Linked DNA regions of Homo sapiens: region 2 is linked to region 1. Evidence: promoter capture Hi-C in 16 types of primary human blood cells and fetal thymus (Javierre and others, 2016). All regions are on one chromosome and are shown on one strand. The core of a region is centred on a gene start or on the middle of the fragment in contact, and the rest is flanking DNA. Distances in the headings are between cores, read along the strand shown.

Evidence for each region. The method cuts DNA at HindIII sites, captures the fragments that hold promoters and counts their contacts. A CHiCAGO score of 5 or more calls a contact.
Region 2: a contact is called between the fragment with the promoter of CLC here and the fragment with the promoter of CYP2B6 in region 1, in 4 of 17 cell types (naive B cells, neutrophils, total B cells and 1 more). The highest score is 6.8, in naive B cells.

Annotation. Positions count from the first base shown.
Region 1 is chr19:40,989,735-40,992,745 of GRCh38, reverse strand. CYP2B6 (cytochrome P450 family 2 subfamily B member 6) reads right to left here and starts at 1,464. Exons shown (of 9, transcript NM_000767.5): 1 at 1,270-1,464. The coding sequence starts at 1,440. RefSeq lists a cis regulatory region at 1,699-1,722 and promoters at 1,459-3,011, 1,425-3,011. The HindIII fragment of the contact is 6,148 bases long and covers 1,211-3,011 here.
Region 2 is chr19:39,736,571-39,739,581 of GRCh38, reverse strand. It overlaps CLC (Charcot-Leyden crystal galectin), which reads left to right and starts at 1,553. Exons shown (of 4, transcript NM_001828.6): 1 at 1,553-1,644. The coding sequence starts at 1,630. The HindIII fragment of the contact is 8,050 bases long and covers 1-3,011 here.

The sequences.
Region 1 (3,011 bases), core at 215-2,714:
GAGTTTAAGACCAGTCTGGGCAACATGGCAAAACCCTGTCTCTACAAAAAATACAAAAATTAGCTGGGCGTGGTGGCATGCACCTGTAGTTCCAGCTACTTGGGGGGCTGAGGCAGGAGGATCACTTGAGCCTTGGGAGGTCAAGGCTGCAGTGAGACGTGATCATGCCACAGCACTTCAGCCTGGCTGACAGAGTGAGGCCCTGTCTCAGAAAAAAAAAGAGTCTTAAATGCTCATATGCAGCCATTCTTTGTACATCCAGTGGGCTCATTACAGTGGGAACAACAAAAACATGAAGAAAAGGTAAAGAATCACTCAACTACGTTGACATTGTCCATTGTGAATTCCATACTGAGAGCAGACAAGTCCATTATGATGGTGACAGAAGTAATGTTGATGCCCAAGGTTTTGGTCAATCTCAAAATTTTGAGGCTGACCAAAAGGGGAGAATTGTTTAATTAAATTAAATTTGACCTAAAGCTCTCTCTGTAGAGTGAACTGCAACCTAACTTGGGAGTATATTCTTTTTTTTTTTTTTTTTTTTGAGAAGGAGTCTCACTCTGTCACCCAGGATGGAGTGCAGTGGTAAGATTTTGGCTCACTGCAACCTCTGCCTCCTGGATTCAAGTGATTCTCCTTCCTCAGCCTCCTGGGTAGCTGAGATTACAGGCACGCATCACTATGCCCAGCTAATATTTGTATTTTTAGTAGAGACAAGGTTTCACCATGTTGGCCAGGCTGGTCTCGAACTCCTGACCTCAGGTGATCCACCACCTCGGCCTCCAAAAGCACTGGGATTACAGGCATGAGCCACTGCACCTGGCCCAAATGAATATATTCTTGTGACAAGTAGCCAAGTGTTGGCTAATCAGAGCAGCTGGGCTTTCAGTCCACACAGGCTGCAAACTGCTCAGATTGTGACCAAGTAAGGCAAGCTGTGATCTGTGGCCAATCAGGCTGTTTCTGTATGTCACCTCCTTTTTCTGCCTGTAAATACCACTTGACCATACTGCCGTGTGGTGTCTTTCCTGGTTTAGGGAGCTGTCCAACTCATGAGTCACTTCTTTGCTCAAATAAACTCTGCTAAATTTAATTTGATGCTTTTCTCCTAATAATACCACCCATCATGCTTCACCATGCTCCGTACTCACCAACCATGCCCGTGCCACCCCTGACTCTGGAAGTCTGCCTCATTCTGTTTGGTGAAGCTTCCCCAAGTACCAAGGCAAGAAGCAGCTCACCCTCAGACCCCATTCGTCTGTGTCTTACCCTCAGAAAGGATTTGAGTAGGCCTCTTCTATCCATCTGCAGAAGGTTTCCCAAAAGGGGCAGAGGGCGGGGCCCTGGTGGGAGGCGGTCATGGGTGTTAGGGTGGCGCTGAACCAGGAGTAGCAAGAGTCCTGTGAGGAGTGCAAGGAAGAGGAGGACGCTGAGTTCCATGGTCCTGGTCTGACTGCCCTGCACCCTGCTGCAGCCTCCAACTGGGCCTTTTATCCTGACCCTGCCTCTGCACCCTGTTATAAAATTTCATCCATTCCCCACCTCCTTTTTCATCATCATCCAGGAGCATTAGCTTAGAAAAAGTTGTTAGGGAACCCAGACTTCCTGCTTGGGCAACCCAGTGACCTGATGCCTATCCCTTTACCCACTCTGTAGATATTGGCAGGGATACAGTGGTAGAGATATCAAAGTCCAGGTGAGCAAGTGAATGTGTGGGTGTGTGGGTTTGTGGGTATATGTATGTCTATTTTTGTAAGCATAGGTGAGCTTGCACTTTTTTACTTAGCTTTGTCTGTTTGTCTGTGCTTGCATGCATTTGTCCATGCCTGCTTGCATCCCTGTATGTGCTTATATGATTTTTACATGTAAAGGGGTGTTTGAATTTATGCAAATGTACTGGCGTATATTTCTGTGGTTGAATCTGGGGGTGCTTATGTGTGTATCCTTGCATGTGTATGAGCTTCCTTGTATTTATACAGTTTTATATACGAAAGTGCATTTACATTTGTGTGTTGTGGAGGTGGTGGTAGTGCATGTTCAAAACTGAGAGGCTGGCTGGGTGCGGTGGCTCACACCTGTAATCCCAGCACGTTGGGAAGCTGAGGGGGGCAGATCAATTGAGGTCAAGAGTTCGAGACCATCCTGGCCCACATGGCAAAACCCCATCTGTACTAAAAACACAAAAATTAACCGGGCGTGATGGTGGGTACTTTTAATCCCAGCTACTCGGGAGGCTGAGGCAAGAGAATCACTTGAACCTGGGAGGTGGAGGCTGCAGTGAGCCAAGATTACACCACTGCACTCCAGCCTGGGTGACACAGCAATACTCCATCTCAAAAAAAAAAAAAAAAAAAAAAAAAGGAGAAGCTGATGAAAATAAGGAATTATTCAATTCAATCAAATTTGGCCTACTGCCTTTGTAGCATAGCAAACTGTAACCTAGCAATACATGAACCAATTGTGTGTATCTGTGTGTGCTGGTGTATTTGTGCTGGTGTGTTGGTGGATCTCCTAGCCCCTCTCTTTGGAAGCCTGCAGATGCTGAGTCTATCTCCAGTGTCCCCTCCTTCATCCGCCCTTCTGTGACAGCCACAGGTGGAAGTGGTCGGAGAAACAGAAGGAGGAGCAAGAGATGCAGAACTGGTGAGTCTCAGAGGAAGAGGTGGTCAGTTGGAAGGAGACAGAAACTGAGACCTGGCAGGTACAGCGATCAGGTCCTCTTGGTTTCTGATCACTCTAACTAGTGCTAAGGAGTTTCTTCCCTGCCTCTGACTATCTTCACGGTGCAGGAAATTTCTCTGGCTCTCTCTCTGTCTGACTTTGTGTCTCTGTTTTCCCCCTGGAGACTCTTGAGCTCCAGGTGTGTGCAAACTGAGTCCAGTTTGATTGATGTCTACTGGACTCCCATATGTCTCTATCCTCACTGTGCACCTTCACCCACACATCCTCTGACAGGGTCAGTCCATCTTTGCAAAACGTGGGTGTGAATGTGTGCGTGTCTGCCTGTCTCA
Region 2 (3,011 bases), core at 304-2,803, 1.3 Mb after region 1:
TCATGCCTTTTCATACTACAGCATTTCTTGAAGATATAGCCATGCCAGTACTGATAATTTTGTTTTTCTTTTATATATAGTCTATGTACTGGCTACTTAATTAAAAACTGTACTGTAAAAAATTTCAAATGTTTGCAAAAGGAGAGAACTGTCATCCCCAGATTATTTTAGAGCAAATCCCAGATATTATATAATTTCATACACAAAACCTAAAGTTTTTCGGGGGAACAGTGTGTGCTTGGAAAGATGTAGTTGAAAAGAAAGACTGAAAGCAAGTCGTAGGGCATAATGGATTTCTGAAGAAATAGTTGCAACCAGCAGAAGTATGGGCTATTGTGCAGAGGATATGGAAGTTAAAGAAGATCAATCTCTCTGCATCACTGAAAGGATTGCTGGAATGCCTGAGAAGTAAATAACATCAACATCTTTATCCACAGCTTACTAGGTGGCCAGACGCCCTGAACTGATATTTCTTCCCCAGTTCAGATGAATAGCTGGGATATTACTCAAAATTCTATTGCATATCTGTTGCAAGGAAAAGCAGTTCCTCTTTCCCTTCTGTGGTAATTTCTTACAAGCTACAGTTCTGGGCAGGGTGTGAGGGTGGTTGCCTAGAACGGGGTTTCCAAAGCTCCTTAATTGTGGCCTCTGACCCTTTTCATTGCTTCCATGTCCATACCCAGAGTCAAAACCCAAGGAATGCAGTGGGATGACATTACAAATTAATCTTAAGGAAATACGTTATATACCAAAAGAACTGTGTGATTGTGCTGATTTATATGAGCAGAATCTTGGAGTGCATGCTTGGAAATGAATTGTCAAGGTTTTAGATCAGGGAAAGTGGAATTTATTGTCGGGTCAAGCACAACTAATATTAATGCTAATGCATCCTCATCGCTTAGCTCCCACTTATGAGTGAGAAATCTCACCTTTCTCCAAGAATCTGCAGGAGAACGACAGCCTCAGATTTTGATTCACATGAAAAGAAATAGGGAAATAAGAGGGCGTACCTAAAGCCCAGGTGTCTGAGAGACAGAGTGGGAGTGGCTCTCACCTGGCAGAGCCAAGGGATCTGAGGGTGGGTAAAGAAGACACAAGTGTTTTCTCTACTTCTGTCCCCAGGTCCTGCGAATGATCAAGATCTATGCTCTCCCAGAACCACTGGAGAAGGAGGAGGAGGATTTTCTTTCAAAGCCAAGTGCCTTGCCCCCAGGATCTCCAGCTTTTTACCATTGCACAGGTTAGGAGAACGCACACCTTCCTGGTAGATTCTGCACAGTGGAGAAAAGGCTTCATGAGAAGCATGGAGGCTGGAACTCACACCACTCATCCTCACTCCATCGTCTTTATCTGTGCATTTCCCTGGTGACCCCTTCCTCCTCCAGTACCTCCCTCACTGTCGTTTCTGCTGCATCACAGGCACAGGCCTCCAAACAGGTGTGGTTGTGACTGAGTCTGTTTCTGACACCCCACCCCTTCTCACTGTGTGAGGAAACCTTCCTGGGAGGGGCTTGGAATCAGGAATAAAGCCAGAGGCAGGGCTGATAGGGGCCATTTAAATTCTGCAGCTCAGAGATTCACACAGAAGTCTGGACACAATTCAGAAGAGCCACCCAGAAGGAGACAACAATGTCCCTGCTACCCGTGAGTTAAAAAGGCACAGCCTTCAATAATCTCAGGTCACACAGAAAAGGGAAGAGGGAGATTTTATGGGATGAAAATATGAAAATTTCTACTGTGAATGCTTTACTGAGAGTTGTGGGTGTGTGGAAGAGAGACCCTAGGGCTATGGTATCTGAGATGCTCCTGGGGTAGGGGGGTAGGGGGTGTGGATGCTGGAACATTGTGACCCTCTGTGAGCATGTGATGGTATCTGATGAGAGTAAACTCTGCTAAAAATGATGTGACTTTAGACGGGATGTGTATGGCCCTCCAGGATATGGGTGGGTGTGTAAGTGATTGTAATCAGGTGACTGTGTTTTGTCTTCATGACTGTGATGTGAGTGTGTGTGTGAGCACAGCCGGACCAGTGCATGAGCATCTTTATATGCACAGTGAGCAGGTGTGTGTGACTCAGTGAGTGGCACGGCTCTGTGTGACTGTGAGTGTGTGTGCTGGAATGTGACTGGGTGTTGAACTGGGAACATGCATGTGGCCTTCTGTGCATGTGAAGGTTCCTCCCCACATAGCAGTACTCTGTCTAACTTCCCTTGTGCATCACTGTGGATCCCCGGTGACAGAACTTGTGGGATCTTGGGGCCCTTGAGTTACCGAGGACTTATCTCTGAGCATTTATGAGAGCAGAATGCATGAATTCTCAGGTGCCTTTTCCCAAGCAGAATGGGGGTGAGAAACAGACGATGGGGCTGATGGTTCCTTAGGTGGAATCTGCACACAGTGACCACTGGCTCCTGCCTCCAGCCTCAGGTCTCTCCCTGTCTCCTACCCTAGCCTGGCCTTCCCATTGAGTGCCAGGATGCTAGAGAAGGACATTGAGGGACTTGATTTAAGAGACTGAATCACCCAAAACCAGGAAGGTACAAGGCAGAGCTTACAGTGGATATTCATCAAGATGTTTGCTGAGGCCTGTAGTCTCAGCACTTTGGGTGGCCGAATTGAAAGGCCCATGTCAGGCCAGGACTGGTAGACCAGCCTGGGAGACATAGCAAGATTTCATCTTTCCAAAAATTTAAAAATTTATTGAATGTGGTGTTGCATACCGTAGTTCCAGCTGCTGGGGGGCATATGCAAGAGGTTCACTGAAGCCCAGGCCTTCAAACCTGCAGTAATTTTTTTTTTTTTTTTTTGAGACAGAGTCTCGCTCTGTTTCCCAGGCTGGAGTGCAGTGGTGCAATCTCGGCTCACTGCAACCTCCACCTCCCGGGTTCAAGCGATTCTCATACCTCAGCTTCCCGAGTAGCTGGGATTACAGGCTTGTGCCACCACTCCTGGCTAATTTTTGTATTTTCAGTAGAGATGGGGTTTCTCCATGTTGGCCAGGCTGGTCTCGA